Linked DNA regions of Homo sapiens: regions 1 and 2 are each linked to region 3. Evidence: promoter capture Hi-C in 16 types of primary human blood cells and fetal thymus (Javierre and others, 2016). All regions are on one chromosome and are shown on one strand. The core of a region is centred on a gene start or on the middle of the fragment in contact, and the rest is flanking DNA. Distances in the headings are between cores, read along the strand shown.

The links. Contacts are between HindIII fragments. The CHiCAGO score rates a contact against its expected background, and 5 or more counts as called.
Region 1: the fragment with the promoter of LNP1 here is called in contact with the fragment with the promoter of GFM1 in region 3 in 1 of 17 cell types (non-activated CD4 T cells); the score reaches 6.1 in non-activated CD4 T cells.
Region 2: a fragment that was not itself captured here is called in contact with the fragment with the promoter of GFM1 in region 3 in 1 of 17 cell types (non-activated CD4 T cells); the score reaches 5.8 in non-activated CD4 T cells.

Annotation. Positions count from the first base shown.
Region 1 is chr3:100,399,823-100,404,064 of GRCh38, forward strand. LNP1 (leukemia NUP98 fusion partner 1) reads left to right here and starts at 1,717. Exons shown (of 4, transcript NM_001085451.2): 1 at 1,717-2,617. It overlaps TOMM70 (translocase of outer mitochondrial membrane 70), which reads right to left and starts at 1,267. Exons shown (of 12, transcript NM_014820.5): 1 at 804-1,267. The coding sequence starts at 1,127. RefSeq lists enhancers at 1-604, 1,286-1,395, 1,446-1,495, 1,506-1,595 and silencers at 966-1,045, 1,656-1,735. The HindIII fragment of the contact is 4,606 bases long and covers 1-3,565 here.
Region 2 is chr3:119,491,720-119,496,162 of GRCh38, forward strand. It overlaps POGLUT1 (protein O-glucosyltransferase 1), which reads left to right. Exons shown (of 11, transcript NM_152305.3): 11 at 563-2,989. The coding sequence ends at 719. Among named protein-coding and RNA genes, the nearest start is that of TIMMDC1, 4.6 kb to the right of the region's middle. The HindIII fragment of the contact is 3,644 bases long and covers 792-4,435 here.
Region 3 is chr3:158,641,832-158,646,266 of GRCh38, forward strand. GFM1 (G elongation factor mitochondrial 1) reads left to right here and starts at 2,696. Exons shown (of 18, transcript NM_024996.7): 1 at 2,696-2,884; 2 at 3,798-3,950; 3 at 4,334-4,435. The coding sequence starts at 2,804. The HindIII fragment of the contact is 2,960 bases long and covers 334-3,293 here.

The sequences.
Region 1 (4,242 bases), core at 467-2,966, about 58 Mb before region 3:
GGCCGCTACTCTTGTGCAGCAAGAGGGGACAGTGCAGTGCAGAGCGTTTTCTGACAAAGGCCAAGGGGTCCGGAGTGCAAAAGGACACCTTGGGGCTGGGGCATGGCAGGAGAGGTTACGGGCGCTGAGTGCTTGCAGCCAAGGGGGCTTCGGGGTTGCTGAGAGAGGACGAGCCTTGGGAGCTTGACAGTTCTGCTTACAGTTCAGAGGCTGTAAAACAAATGCCACTGAACACCATTTCACTCTTTAGAACCTGTGTAGTCTTTCTTTTTCTATGTAGAAAGCCATCTAATCGTTTTTGTTTTTGTTTTGCTTTTGTCAACTAACCGTCACTGTAGTTGCCCACTTACCCCCAGCAAAAACACACTCCAAAAGGGGGAGTGGCTCATTATTAAAAGGCTCTTAGCGATTAGGTTGTAGGCTTTGGAAATCACAGAAACAGTTCGTATCACGATGTACCAATTGTTAATCGAATTTAGCTTCCTTCACTTATTAAATACAATCATCACATTTGCAAATGCCCCACTCCCATCTACAACACTAGGGATAAATGCTGTGTCACTGAGAAGAAAAGCAAAGGATTTTTCTGAAACCAAAAGCAAACTGTCAAAGAATGCCAGTAACCTGTCATCGAGCTACTCTATGCCCTCCACTGGCAGCCAGAAATGAGTCTCCCTAAACCCAAGTGTTGTGCTGCCGCTTGGCAGCTTCCGTCTGATGGGAAGCCCCCTCACTGACACAACCCGCCAAGGAAAAGCTGCACGAGCCAGTTTCCTCCTCTACGGCCTGGGGCTGCTTCTCACCATGTCCAAGTGAGCACCGGGACCTTCAGGGTGTCCGCTGCCCGGGGCCGGACTGGCCCTGCCCTCCGGGGTCTTCCGTTCGCTGTTGCGCTTCAGGCCGCTGGCGTCGCCCCGGCCTCTGGCCTCCCGGCGCCGTTGCTGCCGACTCCACAGGTATATGGCACCCGCGCCCAGCAGCAGGGGTGCCCCGACCGCCAGAGCCAGCTGCCATCGCGGCAGCCCCCCCGTGCCCGGGCCCGCAGTCCCGCCGCCGCCCACCCCACTCCCGGAGCTCGGTACAGCGGCTGCGACCACCGCTGCCTCCACAGGTTTAGAGGCGGCCATGACAAGTGTCCTCTGCCACCGCCTCCCTGTCTGTCGCGAGCGCCACAATCACCAAACAGCGTGCGAAGGAAGACCGAGGGAGGGAAGGAAAGCAATGAGCGAGCGAGCACGCTAGGCAGAGAGAGCGGACGACAGAAAAGGGCCAGAGGTCACCGGAAGCCCAGGGCATGCCGGGCCAGACCTGGCCGTCCTTCTCCTCCAGTATCAACCGAAGAGGGAGAGGAGGGGCGGAAATCACTTCCGGGTTAAGGGAAAGCGTGGGTGTGAGTAGGAGTCTTCGGAAACCCTTTTTCTTTCTTTTCGCCCCGCTGCTGTTCGGGAGATGGACTTCTGGAGTCCCCGTCGTAGCTGGTGTTGTCCCCTCTACCTTCAGGAAAGAAGGGCAGATGGCCCTCTTGCCTACTGAAGCCGAGGAGGGGCGCGTATACAGCGGGCTAAGGGCGCTCAAGAGATCCGAGTGGAAGAAAAAGCAGCGGCACAGCACTGGAATGGGCGGGAGTGGCAGAAGAGTTGTGAAGGCTATTGGCTAGCAAGGGTGGTGGGCGGGGCGTAGACCGAGCTACCCAGTTTACTGGTCGATTTCGGATCCAGTTTTCCAGTTATAGCCACGTTGGCACCTCTTGAACCTCTGTGGCCGTTAGCACGGTTTTCTGCCCGCGTGCCCGAGAAACCAACGGATTAGAAGGACTTTTAAAGATGTGTGAGGAAAGAGCTCACCGCTGAAGAAGGCTGCTGCATCACTGAACTTCTTATCACTAACATAGCGAGATTTTAGTTTGGACGAATTTGAGGTTATAGGGGAGATAGCGATGGCAGAAGACTAGGTGGAAATGGCACATCTAGGTTGGCTGCAGTCGAAACGGTTTGAGCGTGGTCGCTGTGGCTCATCGTCGGCACCAATTAACGAAGCGATGACATCTGCGTTGTTAGGGGTTTCTTAAACTGAGTTGGTAGAAATGCGAAGCGTCAGGGTTCCCGCCGGCTTCGAGCCTTTCTTGGCGTATTTGTATCTTGAGCTGATTTCTGCGTCAGCCCACATCTCGCTCTGATCCGCACGCCCCCCGGGTTGTTTTGCAGTAGCAGTCTCAGCCCTCTTCTCGTCTCATTCCCAAATCGTAATTTCAGTTCACAGCTTTTTATCTATAATAGCTTTATCAACTCTTTTTCCGATGCTCTGCACCAGATCTCTTAAAATATAAAATTACCTTGCAAGGTATTGTTTGGAATACACGGTATTTTCATGAAGACAACTATTAATAGAAAAATCAGAGTCCAGAACTATGGTTCTCCATTTCTGGTATACTGGTTTGCAGAAGCCTTACATTAAGATTTCATAAATGATTGTTTTGCTGTTAAGTGCAACAACATCACAGTAGAGCTACATAAAGATTGAAAGGAGATATTTTATCAAGTGGCACCAGAATGGACTGATTAAAATAGAATGGCCTAATTGGAAAGAATTTCAGGATCACCGGTTTCTCCTGCTTCATGTAAGTTCCTATTAGTAAATTGCCTTCAGGCAATAGGGTTTCTTAGCAACAGACTAAAAAAATGGGCTAAAAATAGCAGTGGAATTGAGTTGATCGTTGCAGGCAATAGGCTTTTCTCCCCTCCTGATCCCCCAATCCCCAAAGGCAAATTTTCTGCCCCTTAATATAAGCTCTGCCTTGCCTTTTTCAGAACACAAGTTAGGATTTTTTTTTTTTTCTGAAATTTCAGTTTTGCTGTGGCCTCTTGGAGGATTGTAGAGTGCTAACAATTACAAACTTGATAGGAACTAAAACATATTTGAAGTTTTTTTTTTAAACCTTTTTCTTATTTATTGGAGTAAGCAATACACTGTTACGGTTAAACTCCAAAAGTTACAGAGTTTACTGTGAAAAGTCTTCCTTCAGTCCCTGTCCTCAGCTGCACAGTTCCCCTCTCCAAAGGGAATCGGTGTTATTTTCTTGAAACATTTTTTGGATTAATATTTATCTAAAGGCCTGATTTTGTTTGGCTTTATTTTTAAGGTTGGCATTAGTAAACGAATCTGTTCTGGTTACTTTTATACTTTGATAAACATCTCATTTCCATTCTCTAGCCTATGCTATTCTCTCATTTTCTCCTCCATTTCCTAATTGATGGTACTGTAGAGCCAAATAGAGTGTCGCTTACTGGCTTTGGGACCTTACTGATCTGATGCATGTTTTTCTAATCTGTGAAATGGTGAAAACATCTACCTCTCAGGCTATAGTAAAGATTTAATTAGAGAATATTTAAAGTTCTTTTGATGTTTGTTACAAAGCAATAGATATTTGATGATTAGTTCTCAGTTTTTCTAAATTTTAAAGTAAAGAAGTAAAATACTGCCTTTCATTTCTAAAAAATTAAAGTTCTGTATATGTGAACATAGACATTATCTTTTTCTTGGTAGATTAGTGGAACTCAACTGAAGAAGCTTTCTTCACCTTTGATCTGTATCTTAGGAGGCAGTTAAATGAGATAGTCTAATGGACTAGGTTGTGGAAGACCTGAGTTTTTTTTTTTTTTGAGATGGAGTTTCGCTCTTGTTGCCCAGGCTGGAGTGCAATGGCGCCATCTTGGCTCACTGCAGCCTCTGCCTGCAGGCTTCAAGCAATTCTCCTCCCTCAGCGTCCCAGTAGCTGGGATTATAGGCGGCTGCTACCATGCCAGGCTAATTTTTTGTATATTGGCCAAGCTGGTCTTGAACTCCTGACCTCAGGTGATCTACCTGCCTCGGCCTCCCAAAGTGCTGGGAATACAGGCATAAGCCACCATGCCCAGCTGACCTGAATTCTTATTCTAAATTTTAATACCACTGAGTTGTGTGTGTGACCATGGGCAACTCTGCTTTCTTTATAATGTGAGGAGGGGTGGATTAGATTATTTTTAAGGCTCCTTATTGTTTTAAAATGATGTAATTCTGTCCCTTCAATTGTCATTGCTACATGAAAGGCCTTTCAGATTGCTAGAGTTGGTAAATAGCTGGTTGACTGGTGTCCAAACCTTCCAGCCAGTGCACAAATCTGCTTATATTAAGCATGTACATATAGAACAGCTCTATTCTCTTTCAGCTGTCTGATGTTTTCATTCTGTTTTTCCTTACTGAAAA
Region 2 (4,443 bases), core at 1,364-3,863, about 39 Mb before region 3:
GGGGGAAAACATACACACATGTCTACATATGCTTGTTTTAAAGGAAAAAGATGGGCCGGGCGTGGTGGCTAACGCCTGTAATCCCAGCACTCTGGAAGGCCGAGGTGGGCGGATCACCTGAGGTCAGAAGTTCAAGACCAGCCTAGCCATGGTGAAACCCCATCTCTACTAGAAATACAAAAAAATTAGCCGGGTGTGGTGGTGCGTGCCTGTAATCCCAGCTACTCGGGAGGCTGAGGCAGGAGAATCACTTGAACCCGGGAGGCGGAGGTTGCAGTGAGCCAAGATCGCACCATTGCGCTCCAGCATGAGCAACAAGAGCGAAACTCCGTCTCAAAAAATAAATAAATAAATAAATAAATAAAGGAAAAAGATTGTTAAGTTGTATTGCTACATGCATGTATGTGGATATGATTGCCATAGGGTTGGTTCTTGAGGCTCAAATGAATTAATTTATATAAAATGCTGAATAATGCTTGGCACAAGGTGAGCACTCAAATGCAGACTGCTATTATCATTAAATTCTGTGCTTTAACATTTTCTTGTTAAATCTTGTCTCTAGGGGAAGCCAGTTTATTAGGAACCATTTGCAGATGGATGACATCACCTGTTACTGGGAGAACCTCTTGAGTGAATACTCTAAATTCCTGTCTTATAATGTAACGAGAAGGAAAGGTTATGATCAAATTATTCCCAAAATGTTGAAAACTGAACTATAGTAGTCATCATAGGACCATAGTCCTCTTTGTGGCAACAGATCTCAGATATCCTACGGTGAGAAGCTTACCATAAGCTTGGCACCTATACCTTGAATATCTGCTATCAAGCCAAATACCTGGTTTTCCTTATCATGCTGCACCCAGAGCAACTCTTGAGAAAGATTTAAAATGTGTCTAATACACTGATATGAAGCAGTTCAACTTTTTGGATGAATAAGGACCAGAAATCGTGAGATGTGGATTTTGAACCCAACTCTACCTTTCATTTTCTTAAGACCAATCACAGCTTGTGCCTCAGATCATCCACCTGTGTGAGTCCATCACTGTGAAATTGACTGTGTCCATGTGATGATGCCCTTTGTCCCATTATTTGGAGCAGAAAATTCGTCATTTGGAAGTAGTACAACTCATTGCTGGAATTGTGAAATTATTCAAGGCGTGATCTCTGTCACTTTATTTTAATGTAGGAAACCCTATGGGGTTTATGAAAAATACTTGGGGATCATTCTCTGAATGGTCTAAGGAAGCGGTAGCCATGCCATGCAATGATGTAGGAGTTCTCTTTTGTAAAACCATAAACTGTGTTACTCAGGAGGTTTCTATAATGCCACATAGAAAGAGGCCAATTGCATGAGTAATTATTGCAATTGGATTTCAGGTTCCCTTTTTGTGCCTTCATGCCCTACTTCTTAATGCCTCTCTAAAGCCAAAAAAAAAAAAAAAGACAAAGCCTCTTAATAAATTTAATGGAACTATACATAGAACAGCAGCTCTTCCTCACCCTTTGCATACCTTTAATATTTTTCCTTCTTAAATTGGCCACAGCAGGGGTCATTCACACTCTCACTGTCTTGCAGGAATCACAAGAAGTCTTCATATGTGAACGTGCCATTCAGTTGGTAGTTAAGAGCATTCAACTTCAAATATATAGAAGATATTTGTTTTAGTGCAAATCCATGATGGAGTGCCTCCCTTTTCCTTTTTTCACTTTTTGAAAAAGATGTTTTGGGTAGTAGTTTAATATCTCAGGGTGCTCTTTCTAACATAGTAAAAAATGAAGAAAAATGTTTAGATTAAAACTCTGTAGTCTGATGACTTAGAACCATCCTTGACCCTTAGGCCCAACCTTTCCACAGAGAAATCACCTCTCTTCCTTTGTCTTTTAAGAACTATTTGGTATTAACTAGTTTCAGAATTAGTAAATGTGAGATTCAGTCACATAATTATCAGACATTCCATTTGTCAGAAATGTATTTGGCTTTTTAAACTCCTTTCCACAAAAGTTTAAGTCTAATGACCTTCTTAGAGAAGTTGAGCATGCCTGGCAAGATCATTTCATGGAATAAGCAGATGTTTAAAGTTGGATTTTTTTTTTTTTTTTTTTTTGAGTACTAGCAATGCACAGGGACCGTGTTCTTAGGTTCTTAGTCTGTGAATCTAGCAATAGGCAGTCCAGATTTCTGAGTCGTACTATGGTTTTGCCTTGTCACTGTGAGGCCCTACTAGGTGTAAGCATTCTCTCTGAATTTTAATTTCCTCTCATTAAAATAGGAACAAAATTTGCTATCCTTTAGATTAGGAGCTGAAGATTCATTTCCCTGGGAATGTTTCCCATTTAGCTTCAAGTTTCAGCTCAAACATCACCTTCTTTCTGACTCCTTTCATTCATTCCTCCAGGCAGTAAGGGGCTACCATAGTACTTTGTTTATGCCTGTATTATATGACATCACTGTAGTTGCTTGACTGTTTCTCCTACTGTTCTGTAAACTTATTAATGGGTGAGAATCTAATTTTACTCATCTTGATGGCTTCATGATCCAGCACAGTGCCTCACACAAAGAACTATTGGGTGGGTGGATGGATGGATGGAGGAATGGAGACAGTTGGCTTAACCAGATCCTATATACAGATTATTACTGGCTCCAAAGGATGAGTAGATAAGACCATAAGAATTGGATCAATGTAAATCCTCACCTGCCCTTTGAAGAGCCAATAAGGGCATCTTTGTCTTTAAATACAGCAAATGTTATTCAGATTTTGTACTTGTCTATCTGTTTACCTCAGTGTAGATGATATGAGGATGGTATAACTATGTAAATTGTTTTTGAAAATAATTTGTTTCCCCACAACTTTTGAAGGTTTTATTTGTTGTTGTTATTACTAGTTCAGTCCCAAACTTACCCTTTCCTTTTCAGAGAGCTAATGGCCATGCTTTTCTTCAAGGAAAGAATAATTTATTTGAATGAAGTGGGATACTTGCATAACACAAATAATGCTTTGTCTTTATTTATTTCGGGAGTGTTATCTATGTGCTGTCAGTGACCCACCTTATTCTACTATATCAGTTCAGATTTTCCTAGTGGTCAAGAACAGAAACTGCCTCTAGCTAGTTTAAGCAAAGTAACTTACTAGAAGGACATGAGGGCATCTCGTGGAATCTAAAAAGGTTTCACAGTGGTTAGAAGGATAGAAGCAAGGGCACCTCCAGGAATCTCAGCAAGAATTTTGACTGTTTCCAGGGTGCTACTATAATGCAGTTCCATTACCTATTGGGCTCTGTCTCAGCTCAAAATTCCCAAGGACAAAAACTTTAATGGACTCATTTGGGTCACCTCCAAGAGTTCCCTACACTTAACCCCTAGACTGACTACAAACAAGAGCACAAACAGGCCAGACACAGTGGTTCACACCTGTAATCCCAGCTCTTTGGGAGGCCAAGGCAGAAGAATCACTTGAGCCCAGGAGTTCAAGACCAGCCTGGGCAACATGGTGAGACCTCGGCTCTACAAAAAAAAAAAAAAAAAAAAAAAAAAAAAAAAAAAAAGAGGCAGGAAGATAGCTTGAGTTCGCAATGTTGAGGCTGCAGTGAGCCATGATCATGCCACTGTACTGTACTTCCACCTGGGCAATGGGAATAAGACCCTGTTTCTCAAAAAAAAAAAAAAAAAAAGCACAGATACACAAAAGTCTATCTTTACATGCATCTAAAGATGCCCTCTCTTAGGATAATCTTACTGCATCCAGAGGTAAGGTGTTGTGGATGGAGCAGAGAGTTATATTTACAAGTCACTCATTTAATACTTACCAGATACTTCTTAAGCATCTACTATGCACAGAGACAAGGAAAGTTTACAAGAGGCTCCCAAACCTCAAGGGGCTGTGCCGTTGAGATGATAAACAATATGAGAGGCATCATACATACGTGGAAGGTGATTAAGGCAACAGGAGTGCCAATTATTCATGAAGACAATGTGGATCTGGAGTTTAGAGGAAGAATAAACTTCCAACTGGAGCAGATGGGAAACTTTGTGGAGGTAAAAATTAATTTATACCATGAAGGATAAGTAAATGAAATGGTTCTTGGAGTTCTCAAAATTCATTCTCTCTCCACATGTTGAAAAGTTTTATATCATATATAATGTAACAAAATGTAAAATACGTAGCAAGGGCAGTACTTGGTGAACCTGGCAGGGAAGGGAACCTGCTGACCCCTGAGAAAAAAATTCACTGTGAGGGAAGAAACTATTAGGTTCTATAAACAGAATTCAGCAACAAGGGCTGTTGGTGGAAGAATGGTGTTCCAGGCAGTATGGTGATTGCACTGAAATCTTTCCCTGATGCAGTTACTCTGCTGGCAAACACATGTCCTGGGGACAAGAAAGCCATATGTGAAACAGTGGTCCAGTAAACCCCATAACACCTTTTGGCTTAGACCAAGCTTGTC
Region 3 (4,435 bases), core at 1,446-3,945:
GTTGCAGTGAACCTGCAATTTAAGTAGGACTCTAGGTATTTTCTTTCACATGCAGCTTTCCTTTTATTAGCAGTCTTAGAGTTTTCCATTTTCTCATCATTGGGTCTTTCCCCATTTTCAAAGAAGCTCTCCAGTGACATTTGTTTTTTACTCGTTTTGGCTAGAGTTAGGTTGTGGGCTTACCAAAACTGTGACTGAGGCAAGTGCTCAGTGTGGGAAGGAAGCGCGGACGGAAGTGGTAAATAAAATAATGGGCGGGCCACGCAAGACTTTAAAGCCTGCCATCAGATGCAACTGTACAACTGAAATACATCAACTCACTTGCCACTATAAAGCTTGCCACCAGTGCAGCTTTTGTCACTTGACACTCACTGACAGGGTTTTGATATGAATCTGCAAGCAATTGATTTATTATGGTCTCTGTGCAGTCAAACCTCTTTGCTAATGTTAATCTGTATTTGCAGCTGTTCCCCAGCCCTAGCGGCCACACCTTAGCTCCACCTCAGGTCATCAGGCATTAGATTCTCATAAGGAGTGCGTAACCCAGATCCCTTGAATGGATAGTTCACAAGGGGGTTCACACTCCCATGAGAATCTAATGCCACTGCTAATCTGACAGGAGGCAGAGCTCAGGTGGTAATACAAGTGATAAGGAGAGGGTGTAAATACAGATGAAACTTCACTCGCTCGCCCACTGCTTACCTCCTACTGTGTGGCCTGGTTCCTAACAGGCCATGGACTGATACTGGTCTCTGGCCCAGAGGTTGGGGACTCCTGTGTTAGAACATGTAGATGCCAAGTACCTGTGCCAACCACAGGTCCACCTTTGCATACTTGACCTTACCAGTATTTTATGAATATATATGTACAGCTCCCATGTTACCAGTGAAGGGTCTTGACTATGAGTCATACAGGTTCTTGGCGTTTGAACAAAGAATTGGACAAAACACATAAGCAAAGCAATGAAAGAATGGAGCAATGAAGGCACAGATGTGTTGAAACAAAAGTACACTCCACAGCTCAAGAGCACCTGTTACAGAATTTTCTGGGATTTAAATACCCTCTAGAGCGTTCCCATTGGTTACACCCTATGTAAATGAAGGAGTGGCCCATAACCAGCCTGCTTGGTTGCAGGAGGTGACCAATCAGAGGCTGAAGTGAAGTTACAAAGTTACACATGAGGACTTGGCCTGCTACCAGTCTGATTATTTGCCAGAGGGGACCAGTCAGAGGTACTTTCCATTTTTTCATCTGCAATGCAGTGCATTGGGAGTAGCCTCCGATCCTTTTGTTACTTGGGCATGGAGAGGTGGGGTTTTCCTTTTGGTTCAGCTCTAGGAAGTCAGCAGGGCCTTCGGTTCCCTGTCTCTAGACCCTGTTCTCCTGCCTCACCCATAAAGGGAATTCCCTAGAGATACTAAAGGCTGTCTGTCTCTCTTCTGAGCAGCCCACTCTGCCTCTCAGAGTGTACTTTTGGTTTACAATAAACTTTTTTGCCTACTCTTACTTTGTACTTGCTTTCAAATTCTTTTGTGTGGTGAAGTCAAGCACCTGAACCGGCCCACTGACAACAGCAAGGATAGAAGCAGTGAGATCGGTTACAAGGCTATTACAATAGTTCCCTCCAGAAACGGCAGTACTGAGAGGTGGGGAGAAGTAAGTTCTGGATTTTCTTTTTTTTTTTTTTTTTTTGAGACTCGCTCTGTCACCCAGGGTGGAGTGCAGTGGCGTGATCTCGGCTCACTGCAAGCTCCGCCTCCTGGGTTCACACCATTCTCCTGCCTCAGCCTCCCGAGTAGCTGGGACTACAGGCGCCCGCCACCGCGCCCGGCTAATTTTTTTTTGTATTTTTAGTAGAGACGGGGTTTCACTGTGTTAGCCAGGATGGTCTCCATCTCATGACCTCGTGATCTGCCCGCCTCGGCCTTCCAAAGTGCTGGGACTACAGGTGTGAGCCACCGCGTCCGGCCCTGGATGTCTTTTTGAAAGTAGAGCTTACAGGATATGCTGACTGATTAGACCGGAGATGTCACAGCATGGTGTCAAAGCGACTAATATTTTTGGCTAGAATCACTAAAGTTTACATTTATGAGATGGATAAGACTGTGGAAGGTTTGGGGAAGAAGATCCGAAGCTCAGTTTTGGACCTGTTAGGTTCAACATGCCTCTTAACACATCCAAGCAGAATGGTCAAGGATGCAGTCTTCCACATGGACAGGACATGAAATGTCTGACATCGAACAATAACAAATAACATTTTGACATGAGGAAAAGTATTTGTAATTGTAATTGATAGTTCATTCACTATAATTTGTCCACGTTCTTTTTCAGGCCATGTCATATATATACCTATTAATATTTGTAATAGACAATTTTGCTCTTTTCTACTTAAATTGTTATATACATTTCTCCACATTGCTTTATAGGCCTAACAACCATGTTTAAATTCTGTATCTTCATACAGAGGTAATATTTAAAAAAGAAGACGAAGACAAAAGGACTCCCTTCCCTCACCCATATACCTATGCCGTCTTACTGGGAGCAAACACTTCTTTAGCTCCGCAAAGCGATTGCACTTTCTCTTCCAAGTCGGCAGACGGCGCGCGAGCAGCGTAGGCACTGCTCCGCCTCCAATCCAGTTGCTCTTCTTTCTTTTCCTCACTCTCTTTTTCCTCGCGTCCTTTGCCCCGGAAGTGCTCTTACAACATTGGCTGCCGGCGTGACTTTGACCGCTTCCCGGTGCGTTACCGGCAGCTGAACCCACCCGGCGCCACGGGACTTTGACGCGTGCTCTGCGCTTGCCATGAGACTCCTGGGAGCTGCAGCCGTCGCGGCTCTGGGGCGCGGAAGGGCCCCCGCCTCCCTAGGCTGGCAGAGGAAGCAGGTACCGGAGCATAGAGAGGCTAAATCGGGACCATTCCCGGAACCTTGTGATCCCTTCTGGGCAATGGAAGGCCGTGACACCCCCTGGGTCCTCATGACTGACAGCTCCGAATACTGGCAGTCGCTCGTCAGTGCTGAAAAGCACCTCGGTGCCTGCACATTAGCTCGTTAGCTCGTTTGTTTCGCTCTCTGGTATCCCTAGGGTTTAATCAACTAAAAGTGTCTGTCACTCAGATACTTTGATATTTTATCCACCTTTTCTAAGGTTTTTTTTTTTTTTTTTTGCCTCTCTTTTCCCGTGAATAATTGTGCATTTTGGATGTGCAGTCCTATAGGGAAAGGTTTATATTGTATCTTCATTCCATCTAATAGGGATCCCCATCCCCTGCCACCAGAGTAAAGTTAAAACAAGCTTCATGAATTGTTTTTGTTTGGAGGGAATTGGAAATCTTTGGGGGCTGTCTTGGAGCTACTAGCATCACTGCATAGAGCATATAAGTTCTCAAACATATTTGTCATCTGTGAACTACAATAAAGGAGAAAGGGAAAAAAATTAAGTTAAATTTAAGCTAAAATTTGTATTTTCTATTAAAGTATTTTTTGGAGCTGTCTTTGTGATTTTATCTGCCCCAGTGTGTATTTTCAAATCTGCAGTAAAAAGTGTCTCCCATTTTAATTAAATTTAACTTATTCATTAATTAATTTTAAAAGAATACGTCTTTACTGTCTTGTTTTGAAGTCTGTCCTCTGATTACAAGAGTTCCAGGCTTAAAGGTTTCCCCTGGTGCCTTTCTCAAGCTATCTCATATCCAGTGAGATTTCTTGGAGGAATAATGTCCACCATACTCCTTTTAATTGTCTGTTGTTCTCTCTTATAAAAGGTGCATAGAATTGAGCTCTCGTATTTTTTTCAGGTTAATTGGAAGGCCTGCCGATGGTCTTCATCAGGGGTGATTCCTAATGAAAAAATACGAAATATTGGAATCTCAGCTCACATTGATTCTGGGAAAACTACATTAACAGAACGAGTCCTTTACTACACTGGCAGAATTGCAAAGATGCATGAGGTATATATTCACGGTTGATTCCGGATTAATTAGAACCAGATTTTAATTGTTTTGTTGCTATTATTTAATAAAGCTTATAAACCTGAAAGATTAAAACAATGGTAACAGCGGACTTTTGACAGTTAGGCTTATCTGAAAGTTGCTTAAGTTAAGTATCTGTGTTCTGGTTTTATTTTTATTTTTTATAGAAGAGGTCTCACTTTGTTGCTCAGGCTGGTCTCAAACTCTTGGGCTCAAATTATCATCCTGCCTCAGTCTCCCACAGTGCTGGGATTATAGGCATGAGCCACTGCACCTGGCAACTGTTTCCATTTCAGTTAAGATTTCTTTCCTTCTTGGAATGCAGGGACAGAGAAAGTCTGAATTGCTGTGCTTGTGTTTAGGTGAAAGGTAAAGATGGAGTTGGTGCTGTCATGGATTCCATGGAACTAGAGAGACAAAGAGGAATCACTATTCAGTCAGCAGCCACTTACACCATGTGGAAA